Regions from separate parts of the Homo sapiens genome. Here region 2 is linked to region 1. Evidence: promoter capture Hi-C in 16 types of primary human blood cells and fetal thymus (Javierre and others, 2016). All regions are on one chromosome and are shown on one strand. The core of a region is centred on a gene start or on the middle of the fragment in contact, and the rest is flanking DNA. Distances in the headings are between cores, read along the strand shown. Region 1 holds the start of WARS2 (tryptophanyl tRNA synthetase 2, mitochondrial). Region 2 holds the start of MAN1A2 (mannosidase alpha class 1A member 2).

Region 1 (5,643 bases), core at 267-2,766:
CTTTATTTCCATCATCTGGCTACTTTCACTCCACAAACTCTATCTGATGGTCTCAAGGATTTCCTTGGTTTCAATTACCATCTGTTTGGTAGTTCAAATCTCTTCTGAGCTCCAGACCCATGTATCTATTTAATGGGCATCACATTTTGGAAGTACTACAAGCACCTCAAATTTAACAGCCAAAACCAAACTGATCAGCTTTGTTGAAGACTATAACTTGATTTCCTAGTTTTTTTTTTGCCTTCATCCCTTTCCTGCTCACTTCTAAATTACACCAATTATACTTGAACTTCACCAGTACTTTGTATACCTACAAGATTATCCTATATGGTTTTAATTTACTGTTTTGTCTTACCCTGGTAGATTTCAGCTCCTTTATAGGCATCTCTTATCTCCTACCTCTCCTTGGTAATTTTCAGTAGCTGGATGAATTATAAACAAAACACATAAAGGAATTGTCATGAATTTCTTCCAGTTATATTTTTACTGAAACACTCGTTATCTGTCTGGGAGATTTTTAGGTGAATTAACAGAAGCAGAAAAACTGTATTAAACTTTCTCATAACCCCAAACAAAACAATTTCTTCCATCAGGTATAACCTTCCTGCAGCCTTCCCTAGACTAGGTTGAAACACCACAGTCATAACCACTCCTCCTTAAAACTTGCGGTGCTTGCTTCTTTAACACCTATTAAGTGTACATCATTTATTTATCCGCTACTCTATTAGACTGTACACAACTTGAAGACAAGATATGTCTTTCTCTGTACCTTCAGTGCCCAGCACATTACGGTAGGGTTCAACAAAGTTTACAGGACGAATGAAATAAGGCCACATAAGTCCAGTGCGGTGGCACATGCCTGTAATCCCAGCACTTTAGGAGGCCGAGGCAGATGGCTTGGCTTGAGCTCAGGAGTTTGAGAGAGCCTGGGCAACATGGTGAAACCCTGTCTCCACCAAAATACAAAAATTAGCCGGGCGTGGTGGCGCACCCTTGTGGTCCCAGCTACTCAGGAGGCTGAGGCAGGAGAATAGCTTGAGTCTGGGAGGTGGAGGTTGCAGTGAGCCGAGATCGCGCCATTGCACTCCAGCCTGGGCGAGAGTGAGACCTTGTCTCAAAGAAAAAAAAGGGAAATGAGGCCACACATGTCTAAAAAGACCACTTATATTACCCTCTAAGAGAACTGGGAGTTTCTAAACAAACTTTTTAAAGGTTGCCTTCACATAGCTAAGATCAGAAATGCAGCCTACTTGACTTTCTTCCAGTCTAAAGCGTTGCTACTAATAACCCCCAAGGAAATTCTCCTTCCAGGAAGGCTGAGCAGACAAGGGATCCAGGGAAAAACACTAAAGCCCCACCCCGCTCCTGTCCCCACCTGCTCGGCAAGAACTGCAGTCCGCCCGATAGCGGCTGCGCTGCGCAGCCTGGAGGCCCAAGCCGCGCCCAGCAAGCAGGAGTCGCGAGACTGGGATTGGCTCTCTGAACAGACGTCATTCCAAACAAGACGGCTCCGCCCTTCTCAAGATGGCGCTGCACTCAATGCGGAAAGCGCGTGAGCGCTGGAGCTTCATCCGGGCACTTCATAAGGGATCCGCAGCTGCTCCCGCTCTCCAGGTAACCAAAGACGGCCCTTCCCTCCGCGGCTTCCCATCCCGCGAGGTTCTTCTCATCCCACTGCCCTCTATTTATTTCTCTCCTCCCGCTTCTTAGGGAAAGTACATGCCTTCCCTCGCCTAAGGTCTACTCGTCTATGACTGTCGGCCTGCTCAGAGCGTAGTGACGTTGCAAGGATACGTGATGACGTAAAGGTTTCTTGGTGGAAAAAGCGCGCCGCTTTCTGACCTCTTGCCGCCACCTCCAGTTCTGGGAGCGGAGCGCCGCCGCTGTTGCCGGGCAACGCGGTGAGCCTACCCCGCGTGTGATGTTTTCAGAGACGGGTTGTTTTAGAGACTGCTCTTCTTGTGGTCTTATTACTGTTTTTACCCTCCTTACCCTAACAACACGCTAAGGGGCTATCGGAGAGAGTAGAGAAGTTTTGTTAGGCATTGGGCAGCTTGGGTCGGGGCAGCAGGTTGGCAGTGTGGTACTTGAGCAAGTGTCAGTGCATCTTCCATTCTGGTTGCTCCTGGTGGCTCCACAGCACTGCTCTATCTAGCAGGCTGTGAAAGAGTGACCGCAAGCTGCTACAGAGTTTGTCCTGTCCTGCGCTTGACAACACTGCTGTTACCATTAATCTCGTCGTACGGAGACCATGTCGCGGCCTGGTCTTATTGGGAATTGTCTTAAATATTTGGAATTTTACCCTCATAGCAAAAAAGTCAGGGGGAGGGGATACCCTTTCAGTTATTCAGGATTTTACCAAACGTCTTCCAAGTACAGTCTCAGTGGCAAGCACTTTGACATACTTTATCTACGGGAGATATATTCTGGGAACTAGAGAGAAAGGAGAGAATGTGATTTTATTAGGTAATTTCCCGGCATCATTTGCATATGTATTGCCATAATGAGTAGGTGTGAGGATGTCGCACCTATTGTAACTGTTGTGTTGAAAACAGCGCTAGACAGGAAGGTAGCCTAGAGGTCAAGGGTTTGGTCTGCCACTTGACAGCTGTGTGACAAGTCACAATCTCTCTGGGACTTTTCTTCTTTTTTTGCTCATATTGAGTGGAGGAAGAGAGCTGGACTGATTGACACGTTAATGTTCTTTCAACCTCTGGAAAATCTATAGTTCCATGATTATGAAGCCAAAACAAAGCCAATGAGAGTAATTATGAAAACCAAAATTTAAGTTCAACTTATTTTTCTAGTCATGTCATAAATTTTTTGAACTTCCGTTTTTTATTAATGTGAGCCTCACAAAATTCTTATAAGCTAATATATTAATATATACCGGAAAGCTGCTTGTCAGCAAACAACTATTCAAATGTCACCTTAAATTTCAGCAGCAATGTTAGGTAAGACAATTCAAAATTAGATAAATTTATCAAAAATTCCTCTCCTTGAAATTTGAGGGTTTGATTCTGCAGAACTAGAATGAGATGATTATTTATAATTTATAGCACATTAACACCTATGCTATCAAAGTAGCTAAGCCGTAGACCCAAACTTCCCCTTATTCCAAACTAAAGAATTGAAGATGTCTTGAGAATAGAGAATCAAAGAGAGAGAGAAAAAAAAGACAAACTGCAGCCTGCTAATGACTGCCCAGGGAAGTTTAAGACACTAAGTCATTATAAATGCTAAAGAAAAAATTTCTTAAACCTCTACTATTGTTTCAGTGGCATTTATGAATAGGGCTATTAAAGTTAATTATTAATCTAGATTGTTTCAAGATGTAGAATTTCCAGTACCGATGAATGTTTCTAAACCTTTAATTTAGCTTTGAGTAGAATAAGTATTAAATGTGAGAGTATTTTTTTAAAGTATAAATCTACATATAATTTCAGTCATTGAAAATGATGGTTTGAAAGATTAATGTGGTTTTTTGAAAGACTGAGAAAAGATACAAAATTGTGTTCATAGTGTTATTACGATGTTATGTTTATATATAAGTGTTTATATAAACGTATACATAGAAAAAAAGCCTGGAAGGGAACAAACATTTTTAACTTTTTTATTTTGCTTTGGCCTTCCTAAATAGTGGGTTAAAAGTTATTTGTTTCCTTTTATAGCATTACATATTTTTCACATGTCTAAATTGAAGACACACACTTTTTAATAACCAGAAAAACGTTTTGAAATCATAAATCTTTATACAGATCTTTAGTCATTAATATCATTTGTGATATTTTAGGATTCTGAGGAAGATACTTGTCCCACAATGCTGTTATTAAAATGGCCTTAGAAAAGGACTACTAAAAATTTATGGCCACTTTTCCTGTATGTATCTTCTTTTTCTCTTGAAAAGCTTCCTTTGAAGTCAAAGGGATTTTGTGAACAGATGCAGAAATATGTGAAAGAGGCATTGGATTCTTAAACCAGATGCATTAGACATTTTTATGATATCTCATAACCTTTGTAGAAAAAAATTATTTTGCAAGAGTATAGTATAATGGGAAAAAATGTATATTTATCATATGAATGGTTCCATCAAAAACCAAGAAATAGCCAAGTTAGTTTTTATTAGCCTTGGCTGTGCACTTACTCCCTTAGGTGTAAAGCAAAAGTGAATGAGCCATAACAGTGCTATGTTAGAAACTCTAACTAATAAAGTGTTGTGATTCCTAAGTTGTTTTAATGGTTTTTAGTGTTTTCTTTTTTTAAAACAAAATCTTGGGTAAAAATGTTGGCATAGGGCATCTTTGCTTATCTCAGAGGATGCAGATGTAAACTCAAGTTGAAAATAAAACAGGGAGAAACAGGAATAACAGCACATCACTCCATACTCATTATGGGATGTCTACAATTTATATGAAAACGGTTTATTTTGCCAGGTGTTGCCTGACAGAAAACTGTTGAAATCTGACAAGATGAGCGTAGTCATAAAGTCAGAGGAGTTAAGATCTGACATGTTCTGTTTAAATGTTGATGGTATTAGGTAAATTTAAGCCTGTCATCATTGGCCAAACACAGAATCCATACTTCTTTAAGCACTAAGTCATGATTGTATTGTGCAAAGAGTGAAATATTGATGGTTAGTAGATTTTTGCAAAAGTATTTGTTATTCAGTTGAAGTATGATAAAGTGTCCACATTTTATTGCAGTTGAACATGTTTCATTATTAGCGGTTCCTAGTCTGGGTTTGGCCAGTATTCACATAATGTTCTTGCTGTTAACTATCGCTAAGTATAGCCATTAGATGAAGAATTACGCCTAAAAAGAAAAAAAGCGTGGTTTAAAATTTTTGACCCTGTATTTAATTCTCACAAGATTTAAATTTTTTTAATTTTAAAATAATTTTAGATTTACAGAGTTGCAAAATTAGTACAGAGAATTTCTGTATACCCTTCACCAAGCTTTGTCTTGAATAATCATAATACAGTTATCAAAATCAAGAAATTAATATTGGTACAATAATAGTAATTTAGCTACAGACTTAGTTCAAATTTCACTAGTTTTTTCACTGTCCCTTTCCTTAGTCCAAGATCAAATCCAGGGTCCCACAATGCATTTAGCTTTCATGTCTCTTCTAATGCATACATTTTCTCCTTCATGACCTTGGCACTTTTGAAGAGAACCAGTCAGTTATTTTGTAGAATGTCTCTCAGTTTAGGTTTGTCTGATTTTTCTTTGTGTTTAGACTGAGGTTATGGATTTTTGGCAAGAATACCACGAAGAGATATTGTTCATAACAAGGCCTTGAGGCAGGTATTGCCACCTTATTTCAAACGTGAAGAAATAGTCTTTGGTTAAGTAACTTGCCCAATGTCACACAATGGTGGAATTAGGATCGTAAGATTTAATGTAGGCATTTCATTCCATATTTTGCAATTAGTATTTGTTATTGTAGGTTTCTGGAATGTTAATGACATTAAATTGGCATAGTGTTCCCACTGACTTTTAGCTTTTCTCTGCCATGTATTGTTCATGCAACATGCAACATGAGCTAATCAGCATGGTATGTGTTCAAGAGCTACTACAATCATCTGGGAATTTTGCTAGTTGATTACTCTGCCAGTTTGATGAGGTTACTTCATCTCTCAT
Region 2 (5,214 bases), core at 948-3,447, 1.8 Mb after region 1:
AGAAGTAACTACTCCATAAAATTCATCCAAAAGTCAAAGAACCATCACACAAGTAATGAATTAACTAGGTTGAGAAAAAAAGAAAAACCAGTTCTCATAAAACAGTGCATTTTCCCAAATATTTAATGTAGGCTTACACGTGAACCTAAGCTTTTTCGGTGCTTGACAAAAAGTTAAAACTATCATCAGATGGGAAATGAATTCAAGCACATGATTTTTTTTCCCACATACTCAAGAATTATTTTAAGAAACAAGGAAAAGATGGCAGGTTTAAGAAAAGTCAACTACTTTCCCAAACTCTTGAGTACAAATATAAAAATTATAAAAATTGTAACTAGAGCTCCCATTTTATCCTAGTTTGGCTATGCTCTCCCCAGAGCTCACTTTAGATTTAGTGATCTGAAAGAATGTGAACCCCTTAATCAACCAAATTCCAATAGTTGCTTGACACAGTCCATCTATTACATTAAAAGAGAGAGCAAAATTAAGTTTCACAAAAATAAATCTTGTCTACAAGCCTCACAAAGTGCAATAACTTAGGATTCAATACCTTTTAACTTAACTGATTTCATATACAGCACCAACACACATCCCCAAAAAAAGAACAAAAATCAGGATATTTTCACGTTAAGAAATGACAGGTATATTCTGCCCACGTTTGTCATCCTAAAAAGCTGACTCACTACTAAGCTTCAACTACAAGCCAGAAAACGAGAGCCCTCTGGGAGAGCACACCCAAAAGAGCTGTCAAGGTTCGATGCTTTGATTTCACATGGTGGCACAATGACTGACTCCAACACGTTATTAATAAATGCAGGCACAGCTTATGTCACCATTTCTTTAGGTTAAGTTTTCATACCTCCCTTCCCAGATGTCCACATTAGACACAACTCTGAACGCAAATGTTTTTCTTATATAAAACCGAAGAGAAGAACGACTTAGGTAGGACTCCAGTCCTACCAGTCTATGGACTCTACCATAGACTGGAGGTAGAGTCCCTCCAGTCTATGGTTTTATTCAGCCAGTCTTGAAGTAACAATACAATATTTATGACTCGAAAAATTACATTTTACTGCAAGAAAAAAAAAAGACAGATTCGATCCAATCACCGTACCTTGCTCTGCCAAATGTTAGTACCAGAACTTCTGAAATAAACAAACCTGTGTCTATGTTCATCGGGTCCATGGATCAGGAAGACTCCGGGGTTTTTAGCCCCTTTACCGGCATCTACATGTGGAATTAACACATCTTCTAAACCCAAATCAAAGCGTTTGTGTTTTGAAGAGTCTGGAAGGAAAAAGAATGCCCCAAAACACAGAGTGATGAAGGCACTAAGAATAAGGAGAAGAATAAACTTCTCAGAAAGTCTCAAGGTAGCCCTGTGATGTGGGAAGGAAGGCGGCCCCAGGTTCAGAGGTGGTATCCTACGTCCAGAGAGGGGCAGCAGGGCTGGGGTAGTCATCGTTTACGCTCTTGGAGAGAATACTTTAGAAAGTTCTCATCTTATGTCAAATGTAGAATACATTGAACTGTCTTCAAAATCTTGGCCAAAATGGGAAAACTCAATTTTGCTCCTCTTAAAGGACTGTTGTGCTTTTTAAGAGGGCACGTCATTCACGCCCATCCATTCCCACTCAGAAACGTGTGTGACCTCCCCCAAACGATCACAAGTTTAGGTCCTGCGATATCCTCTTCAACATCTGTACTTCATCGGATTATTACAAGCCTCCTCTTCATTCCTAGGGGTAGATCAGGCAAGCCACACTGCAGAAAAGCTGCAAGGTGGGTTCTTCCATTCCTGCACCTCAGTGAGATGCTCAAACGTAGTCTTCCGCCCCGAAAGGGAGACTGGCGACATCCGAGGAGTTGTAGAAGGTTCACTTGATCTCCTTCGACGCTTCTATTCCAGAATCTCTTAACCTTAGCGGTGGAAAAAATAAGGGTCTCCCACGGACGTCTGCAAACAGGGAGGAAGGTCTCCCACTTCGCTGGGAAGCCGAAGCAGCGGCGCTGGGCGAAGTAGCAGGAAGGAGTTCTCGGCCGCCCGCGCTTCCCGGCGCTGCCTGGCAGGAACCTGGCGCCCGGCTGAGTCCCGCTGCTGCCCACTCGACGGCTGGCGCGAAGGGCAATAGCGTCCGAAACACCTGAGTCCGGCCAGCCGCCGCGGCCGCCGCCGCTGTTGCTACCGCACGGGTCTGTCAGGGAGCGGAACTTCCTCCTCCGGCGGCCACTGAGAAGCCCCGGCGTGTCCTGGGGGAGGGGAGGCGCGGCGGCCGCCCCCGCCGAGCTCCTCCTCCTCCTCCTCCTCCTCTTCCTCCTCCTCCTCCTCCTCTCCGCGGCCGGTTCAGTGAACCCCGGCGCCTGCTCCCCGAGCTAGGCCGCCGGCCGCAGTGGCCGAGCCCTCGCGCCTAAGAAGCCGAGCCGGGGCCCACGCTCCGAGAGCCCGGGGTAGGCGCCGGCTCATTCCTCACTCAGCCCTGGAGCGGCGGGAGGGCCTGGGCGCGCGGGAGCAGCCGCGCCTCGGGCGGGCAGAGGTCGGCCGCGTCTCCTTCCTGCCCGGCCGCGGGGGCCTCCTCCGCGCCGCCTCCGGTGGCTCGCAGCTGCTGGCTCTGGCGGCGGCTGCCAGAGAGGCAGCGCGCCCACGCCGCTCGGGGCTGCGGCCCGGTCCCCGTACCCTGCCTCCCCAGGCCTGGTGAGCGCAGCAGCTGCTGGGCCGACACCCGTTGGGCTCACGCCGGAGAGGAACCGGAGGGCGGGGGCGATGGGACCCGGGCCGGCCTACCGGCCCCGGCTCGCGAGTGGGCGTCCCCGGGCGGCGGAGTGTGAGGTGCGCGCGCACGCTCCCGGCTCCGCTGCCGCCGCCCCTCCCCCACCCAGCCTGGCTGCCCGGGCTCCGGCCTCGCGCCGCTGCCGGCTCCAGCAGCCCGAAAGCGTACTGCTGCCGCCGCCGTCTGAGCGCGAAAGAAGAGAAGGTCGCCGATCTGCGCTGCCACGAGAACTTCACCGGTGCCCAGGGCCTTGCCACCGCCAGTTCGTGGGGTTGACCCAGCGTTTGGGCGAGAGGGAGCGAGGGGTTGGGTCGCGAAGGTTTCGCTGAAATGTAGTGTCACCGGAGTTAATGGCTTCTGATGGCTTAGGTTAACGTTTACTGTGATTCTTTGGAAGTCTTGTCTTCAGCGATAGACCGTCAGGCCCGAGGATTCAGCAACAGGGTCTCAAACTTCCACGCAGCAGCCCATGCTCACGTTATTGGGCCCCCGAGGCTCGATTAATAGAGCACCAACATGTGCCATGTTACGTTTTTAAAATAAAGTGGTGACCCTGCTCCTTCAGCTGGGCTTCCTTTCAGAGGAATCTAGGTACCCCCGATATGACAGGCGTCTCTTCATTGTTCAGTTTCTGGGGCACGTTCTATCATCTTCACACACCTCATCAACCCCCTTCCCATAAAAGAGAAAATGGATGAATAAGGAGGTGCTGAAACCCAAAAAGGCGACAATATTGTTTACGTTCAGGCTTAAAAACAATCTGAATCAATTCTGTTCTCCGTAGTATTGAGGAGAGCCATGTTGTGATTAAGTGCAAAAGATTTCCTTGCAAGATACATAGACTCTTGCATCCGATTTACTTGCAGGTTGTTTTTGTTCTAATATTGTCATTCCCTGTACACATCCTTTACTGATGACTGGGAATTGGAGAGGAGGCCCTTAAATGTCAGGAGAGTAAGTCAGCCTTAGCTTAAAAATCAAGCAGAAAAGTCTCATGTTCATTGGCACACTTGTAACTACATTCCAGTCTCCCAGTCTGCATTATTTCTAGAAGCTCTGCATATCTAACTGCCTACCACATGACAAAAGTCATTGTCATTGATCCTGCTTCACCAAATAAAAAGTAAAAATATTGAGGGCCACCTCTCACCAGTTCACCCAGGGAGACTGGTAAGCAAGGAGTGCCCGGTCCCTAGTGAGATTTATGTTGAACATTTGTGAAGAGTAGATATAAGAAACTTTTAGCCTTCCCAATATGTCTTTATAAAATGTGCCAAATTTAAGAATAAGTCTCTAATGTTGAGACTCCGTAAGCCAAAGTGGGGGGGGCGGTGGGGAGGCGGGGAAGAACACACTGTTTTCCTACTGTTGAGATCATTAGTTTCCATGAAAAGTTCAGGGGAAATAAATACTGAACTCTGAATGAAATAGCAAGTTATATAAATCTTGAAAAATAAATATTACCTAGGTTAACACTAGACTTAACCACAAGAGATTTCAATCATGAAACCTGACATAACCTAGTTGACAAGTATAGCTTAAGCAAGTAAGACCTCATTGCTGATGGAGAAGACCCCTTTTCCTTTGCTTGTCTGTTTTGCAAAATTCATTTTTCCTTCATGAGAGTAAAAACAATTTAGGGGTTATTGCAGATGTCCAAATGCAGCCAGCAATTTTAAAGTCATTGATGATACCGTCAGTTATCACACTCCTACACCAGCAATGAAAATACTGTATACATAGTATTACATATATCCACTCTTCTAAAGGCAAGTCTGAGTTTTTAAAGAATCATGTTGTTTAAAAAAAAAAAAGTTGCAAATGTATCCATTAATTATAATTATATGCACTTAAAAACATAGAAAAAGAATATTTGAAAAAGATTGCAACTATTCTGTTAAGATACTGGTTTTACGTATGATTTTCTCCATTGTATTCTGTTGCATTATATTTACAATTAAATAAAAATTATAAAGGAACTGGTGCCTGAAAAAGTTAAGGTCAAATTTCAAATAGGTAGACTCGGTAGTATCAAGATGAACACACAGACCGGCCCATCTGAAGGCAATCGGCAGAAACAGTATGCAGCCTGTTCTATGTATGTGTGTATGTGTGTGTACACGTACAACAGGGAAGGATTTCATTCCAGAGAGTCTAAAAAGAATATTTCATTTTCAAAGAGTAGTTACCCTTTGATCAGAGATTCCAAAGTGATGATTTCCCTTTTACAAATCCATATAAATTAATATTTTAGAAATTAGAATTAATAAATTACTAACAAAATTTACTCCTGCAGATTTACAGGACCACTCCTAAGATCCACTCGTATTGCAATGTGGAAGTTACTTGTATTTGTTCAACCATGTGTTGACTTTTCTATTATTGAAACCATTTCACACCTGTTATACACACACGCATGCACACACACACACACACACACACACAT

The links. Contacts are between HindIII fragments. The CHiCAGO score rates a contact against its expected background, and 5 or more counts as called.
Region 2: a contact is called between the fragment with the promoter of MAN1A2 here and the fragment with the promoter of WARS2 in region 1, in 2 of 17 cell types (monocytes and total B cells). The highest score is 10.6, in monocytes.

What each region holds. Positions count from the first base shown.
Region 1 is chr1:119,136,526-119,142,168 of GRCh38, reverse strand. WARS2 (tryptophanyl tRNA synthetase 2, mitochondrial) reads left to right here and starts at 1,516. Exons shown (of 6, transcript NM_015836.4): 1 at 1,516-1,614. The coding sequence starts at 1,525. It overlaps WARS2-AS1 (WARS2 antisense RNA 1), which reads right to left and starts at 1,773. Exons shown (of 7, transcript NR_125975.1): 1 at 1,376-1,773; 2 at 356-422. RefSeq lists an enhancer at 1,435-1,744. The HindIII fragment of the contact is 7,742 bases long and covers 1-3,909 here.
Region 2 is chr1:117,364,432-117,369,645 of GRCh38, reverse strand. It overlaps MAN1A2 (mannosidase alpha class 1A member 2), which reads right to left and starts at 2,197. Exons shown (of 13, transcript NM_006699.5): 1 at 1,161-2,197. The coding sequence starts at 1,462. RefSeq lists an enhancer at 1,132-1,271 and a silencer at 2,142-2,961. The HindIII fragment of the contact is 7,016 bases long and covers 693-5,214 here.